3 separate regions of the Homo sapiens genome follow, and all the other regions are linked to region 2. The links are contacts of gene promoters, found by promoter capture Hi-C in human tissues and cell types (Jung and others, 2019). All regions are on one chromosome and are shown on one strand. Each heading gives the region's core, a stretch centred on a gene start or on the middle of the fragment in contact. The rest is flanking DNA. Distances are from core to core; before and after follow the strand shown. Region 1 has its middle 74 kb from the start of FAM180A. Region 2 holds the start of FAM180A (family with sequence similarity 180 member A). Region 3 has its middle 96 kb from the start of FAM180A.

What was found. Contacts are between HindIII fragments. The study calls those that stand out against the background at their distance.
Region 1: a fragment that was not itself captured here is called in contact with the fragment with the promoter of FAM180A in region 2 in 4 of the 25 tissues and cell types used here (H1 embryonic stem cells, heart left ventricle, liver and 1 more).
Region 3: a fragment that was not itself captured here is called in contact with the fragment with the promoter of FAM180A in region 2 in 3 of the 25 tissues and cell types used here (adrenal gland, bladder and ovary).

What each region holds. Positions count from the first base shown.
Region 1 is chr7:135,820,154-135,824,509 of GRCh38, forward strand. No RefSeq gene overlaps it. Among named protein-coding and RNA genes, the nearest start is that of FAM180A, 74 kb to the left of the region's middle. The HindIII fragment of the contact is 7,079 bases long and covers 1-4,356 here.
Region 2 is chr7:135,746,601-135,751,009 of GRCh38, forward strand. It overlaps FAM180A (family with sequence similarity 180 member A), which reads right to left and starts at 2,213. Exons shown (of 4, transcript NM_205855.4): 1 at 1,905-2,213. The coding sequence starts at 1,980. The HindIII fragment of the contact is 9,123 bases long and covers 1-4,409 here.
Region 3 is chr7:135,843,044-135,847,410 of GRCh38, forward strand. No RefSeq gene overlaps it. Among named protein-coding and RNA genes, the nearest start is that of FAM180A, 96 kb to the left of the region's middle. RefSeq lists a silencer at 3,498-3,650. The HindIII fragment of the contact is 4,493 bases long and covers 433-4,367 here.

The DNA.
Region 1 (4,356 bases), core at 1,479-3,978, 74 kb after region 2:
GGAGATCCTACAATTTTTTCCACTTAAGCTCACCTCCAAGGACAGATCTGAATTAAACTTCCCAATTGACAGTGGCATTGGAGATTTGTGACATCATCATCAGAAACTGTCTATTAAGCCTCTCCCTCCAATGAGCAAGCCCGAGCAAGTTTTACAGAGTCCCAGACCGTGCCGAAGACCCTGCCTTCAAAGCATTTAGTAGAAGAGGTAACACACAGACAGACAAGTACAATAAAAATTTAAAGATTTATACCTGCTGTGAGAGAAGTAATAAAGCTTGGTTGAATTCTTGGGTTTATTATGTAAGTCAGACTACATGTCTTTTTGGGCACCATGATATTCACAATTGTGTCCAAGTTAAGGGCTCATGCATTTTAGAGATGGGAATGAGGGATGGTTCATAAAGTGGAACCAGGGAGAGCAGATGTAGAAACCTTATGTCTGGGATTACCAGGGTTCTTGAAGGCTGTAGATCTTCTCATTTCCTTAGTCAACAAGTAACTCCATATAGAAGCCTGGCCTACTGCTAGTTCTCGGGCTATCATGAGCAAGAAGGCAACCAAATCTGTGTGAATAATGGGAAACCCAATTGAATGGTGTTTTTTGAGATGTTTCTGTTTGTGTTTCAACACCAAATGTTGAAAGCAGAAAGTTGGTTTTGTTTTGCTAGAGCTGCTGAAGCCAGGAGATGTGGAGTTGCGAGTTCCCTGCCATGTTCTGGCTAATGGCCAGCAATGAGGAAGGAACGTTTGGGGCACTGCTGGTGGGCGTCAGCACATGGACTGACTCCGCACAGGCATGCTTAGAGCAGCCCTCTCTATGCCTGACCCCTGCCTCTGTTTCTCAACAGGCACAGCCTTTGTCATCAGAGTGCTCAGCCCCATCTCTACTGGGACCCTCATTCATCTAATTGTCCCGGTCAGAAATCTTGTATGGTCTTTGATTTCTTCCTCTTCCATGTCACCCAGATATCTCAAATACATCCACTCCCTTCCATCTCTGCTGCTAATGCAGAATTCCAGACAGCAACATTTCTCAGCAGGACGACCACACCAGCTGCTTACTTGTCTCCTGCTTTCTCTCCAGTTCCTTCAGTTTATTTTTTCTCCTCAGAGTAGCCTAGATATTTTTTAAAAAAGATAAATTATACCATATGATGCTCCTTCTTAAAACTCTTCAATGGTGTTCCATTACATGTTGGAAAAAAGTCCAGATCTCATAGTATGGCTATCAGGGTCCTCCCTTATCCAGGCCCTGCCCACCTTCCCAACCCCATCTCCCCTGATCCAGTCCGTGCCCACCTTTCCAATTCCATCTTGTTCTATTCCCCCCCATCTCACTCATGTCGCTTGGGCCACTCTGGCTGCTTTGTATTCCTTAAATTCATGCAACACTTCTCATACCTGGTCTTCTGACACATTGTTCCCTCTGCATGGGACACTTTTCCTCCTGAATGCTTGCATGGCTGGCCTATTTTTATAATTCAGGATTTGCCTTAAATGTTTCCTCCTCAGCAAGGCCTTCCCTGAGTGATCTCCTCCTCTTGGCTCCATCACTGTGCTTTGTTTCTCCCTGGCACTTAGCGTGCATTGAAATCACACATACATTTGTTGATGTTCTTGTTGAATGCCTGTCTGCTCTCTGCACTGAAGTTCAGTGAGGAAAGGGCTATGTTAGTTTTGCTCAGCATTAGTTTACTTTGGGACTCCTAGCATAATGCCTTAAAGATGTGTTTTATAAATATTTATTGAATAAATAAATGTTTATTTCAATCAGGTTCTATTGTCCTTTTGTGTGGAGGCTAGCCCAGCTTGCTAAATGCTTGTGCCCAGGCGTGAGTGACTATTAAACAGAAAACAAAAAATATAGTTTTTTAAAATTAGTTTTTTATTTCAATAGTTTTTGGGGTACAGGTGGTTTTTGGTTGCATGGAAATGTTCTTTAGTGGTGATTTCTGAGATTTTATGCACCTGTCACCCGAGCAGTGTATACCATACCCCATATATATAGTCTTTTATCCCTCACCCCTCTCCCAACCTGTCCCCCACCAAGTCCCCATAGTCCATTATATCACTCTTAAGTCTTTGCGTCCTCATAGCTTAGCTCCCACTTAGAAGTCAGAACATACGATATTTGGTTTCCCATTAAAAGTGTGTTTTGTATTTGGTGACTTTTCCCCTAGTCCCTCTTTGTCTCCGTTAATGAGTGCAGGATATGAGGTAGAAGAGGTCCAGAAGCCATTTGCCTTTCAGACTCTTTAAATGAGGCACAAAAGGAGGTGCTTCTGGGGGTGGAGAAGAAAGAGAACTCGATGTAGCAGGGGTCTGGCATATGGAGAGCAGGCTGGTCCCAGAAGGGATCCTTCTAGGCTCATTAAAGGTAATTTGCTTCCAGACCCTGTGGCCGTCCCCTGTGCAGAAGAATGGCAGACGGCCTGCATCTGGAGAATTCAGAGGACTCCGAGTTAGGCAAATGAGCCACCTGCTCAGTTCCTTCTTTGCAGAGGAAAATGAGTGGCTCCTAGTTGCTGGGGGAAAGAGCAAGGCCGGCAGAGGTTGTATCGGTGTCACTCCCACCCCCAGTGAACTTGCCAGTTAAGCCTTCCTCCACCACATGGACAGTCCCATCACTGGAGACAGAGCCAATCTCACTGACCTCCTTGAATCTCAGCCACAGGTAGAATCTGGTCATCAGCAGCTGCTCATAGGCCCCACTGTGGGCGCCTCTCTATGTCGTTGGCTCCCTAGAGTCACAAGGTCACCATTTCTATGTAAGCTTTGTCAAAGAATGTGACTTCACATAGTCTGAGAGTGGTTGCTGACAGCTGATTTAACAGTGAGATGATGGTGACATACATTTAAATTGGGGGCCCTTAAGCCAGAACTTCTCTCTTATCCCTTAAAGAGAAAATAGGCAAATCACCCACAGAGAATGGCTCTCCCCTCCTGCTGTATCGCAGGGAGTCCTGGGTATACCGATGTCTGTGCTGACCAATGATTTGCCGAATACATGCTTTTACAGTGTGGCTTTGTCTTTGTACTAAAACAATGTCAAACTGTACATTTCAATAACAAGGCATGGATGTGATTTCTGAGCCATCAGTGGAAATGGATGATTGGACAAAATGATGCTATGGGACATCTCTCACCGGGAGAGATTGTGTCCCTATCAGGGCTGATACTTATGGAGAGTCTATGATTCATATTTATGTCAGAAGAATTGAGTCAGGCTGTGCTGTGCTCTGGGAAGATGCAAGAAGTAAGACAAAGGAACAGGAGCCAGTGTTTTTCAAGGTCCTGTGAAGATCCAAAGGTAGTTTTAGGCATTTGATGAAGATTGGCTGAATTTAGTCCGACGAGATTGTTCCTGATCCTCTTGGGGAATCCTACTTCCCATCTGCCTGGCAAGGGAGCAAGAGGCAGAGTGTGGCCAGAAAACTGACTTTTAAAAGGTTGGAGCAAATTGGGTTGGGGAAGCAACACATTCACCTTGGAGATGACTCAAGAAGTTGGGATTCAACATGCTGACCCAGTCATGATCTGCACCAATGGCATAGGCTCTCCTTGGCTTGTGCTCTTGGCTTTGCAGCTGTGTTGCAGCTCCAGCAAGAGTAAAGAAGCTGTAAATATATCCCAGGTACTTCTTTTCCCCTACAACAGAGGTTCTCAAGTGAGCAACCACAGGCTGCAAGGCCGGCCACCCTGTTTCTGATTGAGTATGGCTTAGGATGAGGCCTGAGAATGTGCATTTCTAACAAGCTCCCTACTGATGCTGCTGCTGTGGGTCCAGGGATCTCACTGAGAGCCTCTGCTCTACAGCACCCTGAGAGAAGGAGGCCCAGCTCAGCATTTGCAAAGGGCCAGGTTTCTGTGGGTCGTGTGGAGTTCTTCCAGTTGCTTTCCTCTTCTCACTTCCCCACTCATTACCGAACAGGCTGACGAGCGTAAGGACAACTGCAGATTCTCTTTTCCTTCTGATGCGTTATAATTCAATCCTCTCAGCACTTTTTAGCACATTTTTATTTTCTTCCTTAAAAAAAAAAGGAGGGCTCCAGCGTCCTTGAAGACAGATCCCTTTTTAGCTTTGCTTTGGGGGTATTCTCACTGCCTGTAAACAAGCGTCTTAGGGAGTCCCGTCTCCTGTGTCTGGTGGGGAGTCAGTGAGTAAACAGTCATCTGTTCTCAAAGGTCAGGCTGAGACCCAGTGTCCGGCAGCACCGGGTCCTCAGACCACTACTGTTCTGATGGCAAATGTTGAACACCAGCACCCGGGGAGATGCTAACGAAGGTCAAGGTGGTGCCAGGCGCAGGGAGGCTGTTGAAAATGTTGATTTAATTAGTTAGATGCAGTGAGGGA
Region 2 (4,409 bases), core at 963-3,462:
CTGTGCCTTAGGAAGAGTGGGCACTGTTACCCTGTTTAATAAGCAAATCCCCAGTGTGACAAAGAGGGGAGTGACAGAACCCAACTCCAAGATCTCTTTGCTTTTTACTTCCAAGTGCTACCTCAAAGTTTGTGCACACAATGAAAAGGGAGGTGTGAAAACAGGGTGACTACAGTCAATAACAATTTAATTGTACATTTAAAAAGAACTAAAAGAGGGCCAGGCACTATGGCTCATGCCTATAATCCCAGAACTTTGGGAGGCTGAGGTGGGCAGATCACTTGAGGTCAGGAGTTTGAGAGCAGCCTGGCCAACATGGTGAAACCCCATCTCTACTAAAAATACAAAAATTAGCCAGGCGTGGTGGTGCGCACCTGTAACTCCAGCTACTCAGGAGACTGAGGCACGAGAATCGCTTGAACCTGGGAGGCGGAGGTTGCAGTGAACCAAGATTGCACCCCTGCATTCCAGCCTGGGCAACAGAGTGAGACTCCGTCTCAAAAATAAATAAATAAGTAAATAAATAACAAATAAAAGTAACTAAAAGGGTATCACTGGATTGTTTGTAACACAAAGGCTAAATGCTTGAGGGGATGGATACCCCATCTTCCATGATGTGACGTGCCTGTATCAAAACATCTCATAGGCCCCATAAATATGTATACCTACTATGTGCCCACAGAAATTAAAAATTAAAAATTAAAAAAAGAAAAGGGAGGGGTGTACGTGTGTATGTGCATGTGTATGCAAGGTTGTTATGAGAAAAATGAAGAATGCTGTATTATTTGTTTCTGGGCAACGATCACTTCACAGCTCAGCTCAAAAGACTTATATCCCTGTTAGAGATGTAAGTCCCTAATGTCACGTTTAACCATGAGGAAATAAAACCCAGCATAAGTACAGTAGCTTTTGCCTCCCTCCCATTTCAGATCCTTCTCTCGCGCTGCTCTATCCCCACTCCGGCCACTCCTTCCTTCCCTGACACTGTCCTTGAGAAGCAAGCAGGAGGCGCATCCATGCCACCATGCCAGTTGCCTTCCAATTTTGCATCTCTAGAAACACCTACTGGCCTGACTTGAAGGAGCCTGTTCTTCTTGCGGTTCTTTCTAGGAGAGTGAACTCAGTTGACTTTAGGCAGTGGAAAGATTTCCGTTCATATTGGTGAAGAGTGGGCAGTGCCGTGGGTCCCTCCTTTCCTAACAGTGATAAACTCTGGCTCGAGGTGCTCCCAGTGTCTACCAAGCAGAGCCACTCCCAGGGAAATGGAGAAAAGATGCCATCCAGCTAGGAGGAACTACATCCTGAGGGGGAGGAAGTCAGTGATAAGAGAACAGCCTTTGCTGGGGCCCCTTCCTTTGTGAGGAGGTGGCGGAGCTGGTGGGTGCAGTGGAGGTTGAAGGGTTGCTCTCCTCACCTGCCCACCTCTGGCTGCAGAGATGCATCCCCTCCCGGTGAGGAGGCAACGTTCTGCAGAGCTTCTGCTCTGGTTCCCCCAGGGAGCAGGCCTTTGGCATCCCAGTGCCCATCACTCCATCATTTTAGCAGCAGGTCTCAGCACCTGCTCTCCAGACGGTCTGGCCCAACTGCTGCAGGTGGTGGGGGCAGTCGAAGAAATGAGTTCTACTTTCTATGAAGCAGAAATGAGTTCTCTCTGGGATGCCAGAAAGGGGTACTCTCTGGGTTCTCCACCTCAACCTAATTCCCTCAGGAGCTTTGATTTTTTCCAGTGTCATTTCCCCATCACCCTCTAAGAAGGGGGAACACGTCAAGAAGCATCAAGGAATTGACAGAGATTAGACAAAAGGAGAGTGCGGGGCTTCTAATGTCCTTCCCTCCAAATTTTGAATTGCATTGAAGAAAGTATAATGAGCATCAAACAAACAAATGAATAAAAAGCAACTCACCCCTGCTCCACCTGTGGCACATAGAAGCCTCAGCATTGTAATACAACAGCAGAAGCAGCAACATCTTCCAATGCATCTTGTCCTTCAAAAGGTGAAAAATCGACCCTCAAGCCCAGTGGAACCCCAGTAGCTGCAGGTATGCCCGTGCCGTTCTTCCCAGTGAGATGATGGAGTGCTTCCCTCCCTTCCTTTTGCAGACGTGCAGAAATGCCTACTCTGCCTCAGAAGGCTGGAGGCTGAAGGCTGCGTCCTGGGTGGGACAGGAGTCGGTACCTCTCTTCATTTGACGCTCTCTGGGATTGGGGAACTGGCCTTCCACAGAGAGACTCTGTTTTTGAGCACATCTGGAGTGACTCACGGGGCATGTGATCTCCTTGGCAGTGGGGCGGATAAATATAATTTCTGTACTTGAGTTCCATGTGTTGGATGCACCCACTGGAATTTTTCTTTAACAAACAGACCCGCGGAACTTGTTAGAGAGCCCGGCGAAGAGTTGGCTGCTCTCCCCGTCCACACATACGATACCAGAGCCAGGGGCGAGGGCTGGAGGCAGAGTTGGGAGCCTGCCTGGCAGACACCAGGGCTGGTTGAGCCTAAGTTGCCTTCAGGACAGCAAAATCATTGTGGTGCCTGGGCTGAGTGTCACTGTTGCCTGGCCCTGGAGCTAGACTAGGACATTGGCGCCTAGAGCCTGTGTCTGGTCTGCCCAGGTTCTGGGTGGGTGGGGAGTTGGCAGGTTGTGACCGAGCCGAAGTGGAGAGGTGACATGGTGCATCGGTATTGTCTGTGTGAACGTGCGTAGGTAATGATCCAGGAGCCCACGGGGACCCCCAACTCACATTGGTGATGCTCCCATTTCTGGGCTGTGCCTAGACCTGGGGCCAAGCCCCACAACTCACATTGGTGATGCTCCCATTTCTGGGCTGTGCCTAGACCTGGGGCCAAGCCACTTTGATTTTCCCAAGCAAAATGGGAGTGTTTTTCCATAGTCGTTGTAATATACTGCCATAGACACCTTAATTCTTTCCCAATCACTTCCTCAACTTCTCTGAAATGATAGGGAATGCTAAAGCTTGAAGGACACTTAAAGATTATGTCATCCTGTGGGTTTTCCAGTTTGTGGAGGTGGTGCCCAGGGTGAATGGGCTCCCCAAGAGGGCTCCTCAAAGCTCTACTCTACTGCAAAAGCTCCTCTTTTATCTGCTATAAGAAGTTGTTTGGGAGCCGGGCATGGTGGTTCACGCCTGTAATCCCAACACTTTGGGAGGCCGAAGTGGGGGAATTGCTTGAGGCCAGAAGTTCAAGACCAACCTAGAGAAAATAGACCCTGTCTCTACAAAAAATTAAAAAATTAGCTGGGCGTGGTGGCATGTGCCTGTAGTCCTAGTCACTCAGGTGGCTGAGGCAGAAGGATTGTTTAGGCCCAGGAGTTCAAGGCTGCAGTGAGCTATGATCACAACACTCTACTCCAGCCTGGGTGACAGAGTAAGAACTTTCCTCTTAAAAAAATTAAAAAAAAAACAACCAGTTTTTTTGGGGGAAAAAATACTAGACTACAACATTTGAAAACCAGTACGCTCACTAATATTAATAATAGCTATTAGGTGCTTAATTTGCTTCAGACAGCGTGCTAGGTGCCCTCCTTGCATTAACTGATTTAATGCATCCACCGAACTAGGAGGTTAGGGCACTAGCCAGCAGCACTCTCCAACAGAAATGTAACGTGAATCACAAACGTCACTTAACATTTTCTACAACTCATACTAAAAAAAAGTAAAAAGAGGCTGGGTGCAGTGGCTCACGCCTGTAATCCTAGCACTTTGGGAGGCCGAGGCAGGCGGATCACCTGAGGTCAGGAGTTCGTGACCAGCCTGGCCAACATGGCAAAACCTCGTCTCTCCTAAAAATACAAAAATTAGCCGGGCATGGTGGTGCACACCTGTAATCCCAGCTACTCGAGAGGCTGAGGCAGGAGAGTCTCTTGAGCCTGCGAGGTGAAGGTTGTGGTGAGGCGAGATGGTGCCACTGCACTCTAGCCTGGGCAACACGAGTGAAACTCCATCTCAAAAAAATAAAAAATAGAAAAAGTAAAAAGAAACAAGTGCAATGAATAGTAATAATATCTTTCATTTAATTCAATATATCCAAGATATTATCATTTCTACAAGTAAGTGATATAGTATTAGCAAGATATTTTATATATATATATATAATATTTACATGAGGTCTTTGAAATCTAATGTGTATTTCACACTTATAGCACTTCTCAAGTCACACCAGCCCTGTTTCAAGTACCTGATAGCTCCATGCAGCCAGTGGCTCCTGTATCGGGCAGTGCAGAGCTAGAAGGTGAGAGGGCAGGCTCTGGGGCAAGATGCCTGTCTTTGTATCCCAGCTGTGCCACTGACTAGCTGTGTGATATTGGTGGAGTTCCCTCATCTCTCTTGGGCTTGATTTTCTTCATCTATAGAATGGGGACAATAATAATTTCCTCTCATAGGGTTG
Region 3 (4,367 bases), core at 1,429-3,928, 97 kb after region 2:
CTGAGTTCCCTCTGCATCAGGAAAAGTCTAGATTAATTTTTCCTGGGCTGGCGGGAGAGAAAAGATGAGATGTACAAAGACCAAAGAAAGAAGGGTGTTACATGACAAAGGAAGATCAGAAAAGCCCAAAGATAGTCAGACTCCCTGGGTTACAGTGGAAAATTTTTATCTTTGCAAATAGACTCAAACTTCAGGTTTGAATGTCCTGAGACATAAAAGCCCTAACTACACACTAAGCAGCACCCAGCTGAATCCCACAGCTCAAAAGAGGAAGATGATACGAAAGAGAAGTCCTAATGTGGTTCTGCAATTACTGACAGGTTTCAGGGACTGGTCACAGGGAAGAATGAAGTTCTTTGGGCTTATTCATTTTCAGAAGCCACAATCTCAGAACCTCTGGTTTGTTCAGTTATGGTTAGACTCTCTCAATTTTGCTTCAGAGGAGAACACTGATATGCACAATTGAGAATGAAATTTTTCTTTTTCTTTTTTTTTGAGACGGAGTCTCGCTCTGTCACTCAGGCTGGAGTGCAGTGGCACGATCTTGGCTCAATGCAAGTTCTGCCTCCCGGGTTCACGCCATTCTCCTGCCTCAGCCTCCCGAGTAGCTGGGACTACAGGCGCCCACGACCACGCCCGGCTAATTTTTTGTATTTTTTAGTAAAGACAGGGTTTCACCGTGTTAGCCAGGATGGTCTCTATCTCCTGACCTCGTGATCCGCCCGCCTCGGCCTTCCAAAGTGCTGGGATTACAGGTGTGAGCCACTGCGCCCGCCCGAGAATGAAATTTTTCTATGTCACAAACCTCTATATCTATTGAATGGCAAGGGCAACTGGGACTCTGTTTAGTTGGTATCATGTATGAGCAAATGCTATAACAGCTCCTTTAACTAGAGAGATAAAATTACAAGAATGGAAACTAATATTTTGATGGCAATACAAGGCCGGGGGAGAGGGAAGAGAAATAGAAAGTGAAGCATGAGAAATTCTCTCAAGGCCAGGCGTGGTGGCTCACGCCTGTAATCCCAGCACTTTGGGAGGCTGAGGTGCGTGGATCATTTGAGGAGTTCAAGACCAGCCTGGCCAACATGGTCAAACCCCGTCTCTACTAAAAATACAAAAAAAATTAGCCAGGTGCTGCACACCTGTAATCCCAGCTACTTGGGAGGCTGAGGCAGGAGAATTGCTTGAGCCTGGGAGGCGGATGTTGCAGTGAGCCAAGATAGCGCCGCCACACTCCAGTCTGGGCGACAGAGTGAGACCCTATCTCAAAAAAACAAAAACAACAAAAAACCCCCCCAAAACCAAATTTTCTCAAAACTAAACTGCTATTCACAATCAAAGGAAATTAGTAGAAATTTATGAGCTACAGTTTTAAGCAGGGAACCCTTCTTAGCATTCGCTAAGATAAATCATGTGGATGAACTCGAATAAACCTAAATGACAGGCCAGTCTTATTGTTACTGAGCCATGGGCTTTCCTCTTAACGTGCATAGAAGCCAATACTATGGCACAGGCTTTTGAGAAAAGAAAAAGCTTTATTGCAAGGTCAACTGGCAAGGAAATTGGAGGCAACACTTAAATTCGTCTCCCCAAGCTGGGGCCTGAGAGCAGGTTTTACACACAGGGAATAACAATCAGAGACATAGGAAAATGCAACGAGGCATGATCTGATTGGGCCATGCAAAGAGGTGGTGAGGTGTCCTTGCCTTTTAAGTCTGTAATGCAGCAAAACAGGGTGCCCTTCTCTTCTTAATTTGATCCTCCTTCTTCAATCTGAGTTCTTAGGTTCCATATGTGGTTGATGTTTTCACTCTGGCCACCTACAGGGTCACGAATTGGGCAGGCTTGGTTCATCTGGGTGTGCTCAGGTTATGTGACTTGAAAGCTGGAGGTCCACTGCAACTGAAAGCAACTCCTCATTTTGTTACATTTTGTGACTGATAGAGCTCAATCCCATTGGACCGATTCTGTTATTACATTATTAATATTGACTCTTAAAATGAGCACTTCTGCTGAGGATGGTCACCTTACGTTGTCCCCTCGATCTTTCAGTGATTTTTCATGGAGTTATGTGGTATTATTTACTGGGCCACTGAGAAGCCATTTTGAATACTTGGGAGAGTGAAAAGTAATTTCTAAAGCGGAACTTGGGTTTTACTTCAGAACTCCCAGTCCTAGTCTTGTCACATTGGAAAGATCAGTGGGGTGGGACCCTGGCATTGTGATATTGAATGTATGTATATGATCTGAACGCAATTTTCTTCAAAGGGATCAAAATCTTCCATCTGAAAAAAGTGAAATGTGGTCTAGTGACTTTTTTCAGAGTCAGTATCTATCAGGGCAAAATCTTGAAGACAGTTGGGAATAAAGGAAACAAAACAGATTTCCTCAGTAAGATTCAAAGCTTTTAAACTGCGATCTGCTTAAAATGTCCTGTGCTAATTATTGCCCGGATTTGTTCAGCTGAGAAGCTTCTGAAGTTGGCTTGCTTGAGTGCGAGGTGCTCCATTTTAATGTTGCAAAACCTCCTCAGTAACCACAAAGGCAACTGTTTATCTCAATCTTCACTTAAAACACCTGCTTACTGATACTTGATTATGTGTTTTGAGGCTTGTGATTGAGAGCCTAACACCTGGCTGATTAGACTGATGTTTGATCATGTTTTGAAAAGCAATTTTACTACTTAGCAAGCAGTTCTATGCTGCAGTGCATTAACTGGATTGAATGTCCAAAACTCTTAGTATTGTTTTTAAAAAATAACCATTACAGAATAATAGCTTGTTTTCATTAAGGAGGAAATGAACATACAAATTCTTACACTATTATGTAAGTGTATGATGCAACCCATTGTCCATTAAGTCAGTAGGTTTCAAAGTGTGGTACAAGGAGAACCTGCATGGAATTCCTACAACAGATATCTTGAATTAGAATCTGTGGTGGTGGGGCCCATGATTGACATTATGAGCTAATTCCCTATGTGGAGAAATGCTACTTTAAGGGAAGACAACTTTCACCTGGATCCTGAAATAGACCAGGTAGCTTTCTGGGTAGAAACTTACAGCTCGGATCTGTGAAATCAGTCTGCGCTGAGAGTCGAGAGGCTTTCTGTCTTTTCTTCAGAGACCACTGTGCAGGTATGTGAGATCTTGTGTCATGGCTGGCTGGGTAGTGAACCCCTCTCCAAGAGCCTAGGAGGTGAGTGAGTTAGGCACCCAAGGTGGTGACAGGCACCCACTTTCCCCCTCTTCATTTTACAAATGAGAAAATTGAGGCCCAGACAATGGAAAGGATGGATAGAAGGTAGCGGAATGTGGAGTTGAGGCCAGATCCCCTGTCTCATCGTCCTCACTTATTGCTCTTGAGCCAAGTCACCAAAGGAAGAACTCTTTAGAAGGTGGGGCCCCAGGATGTCTACTTTGGGTCCCTCCAGGGCCGCTCTCTGCTCTTTTCCCCTGTGCTGTGCTCAGGAGGCCGGCCTGCTGGAACTACAGCCAAGAGCTCCCTGCCCTCTGGCGTCTGGGTGGATTTGGCCAGTGGGAGGCACCACTGGGGGACAGGAAGAAGGAGCCCATGAGAGTGAGCTCACCTGAAGGTACCACATGGGTTTGGTGACAGGAATAGCATGACTAACTGTAATAGCCAGGGTTCTCATGAGAAGCAGAGACAAGAGGATATGCATATATGAGACTTATTGTGAATTGGCTTGATTATGGAGACTATGAATTCCTATATCTGCCACCTGCAAGCTGGAGACCCAGGACAGCCAGTGGTGTAATGCCGTCTAAGACCTTAGGCCTGAGAGCCAAGGGGCAGATGGTGTGCATCCTGGTGCAAGGGCAGGAGAAGGATGTCCCAGCTCAGGCAGGTGGGCAGGAAGCAATAGGGGCAAATTTCTCTTTCCTCTGCCTTTTGTCCTATTTTGGCCCTTAACAGATTGGATGACTCCCACCCACCGTGGGGAAGGCCCATTTGCTTTATTGAGTTCACACATTCAAACAGTAACCTCATCCCGGAACCCCCTCACAGACACACCTAGAAATAATGTTTAATCTGGGCGCTGTTGGCCCAGCCAAGCTGACACATAAAATTAACCATCATAAGTCCACCCCTTGTCAACTTGGCATCCATCGCATCTCCTTAAACCATACTTAATACCCAAATAAAGACAATATCAAAGGCCATCATTCCATCTAACATGATACACACCCATCCTGTGTACAACTGAAAATGCACTAACCCCTTCCCCAGAAGAGGAGGAAAAGTCCTCGTGTGATGTTTCCTCCCCTCCCTATATCCTGTAACTTAGAGTCATGTGTCACTTAACAATGGAGATGCATTCTGAGAAATGTGTGAGGTGACTTCAT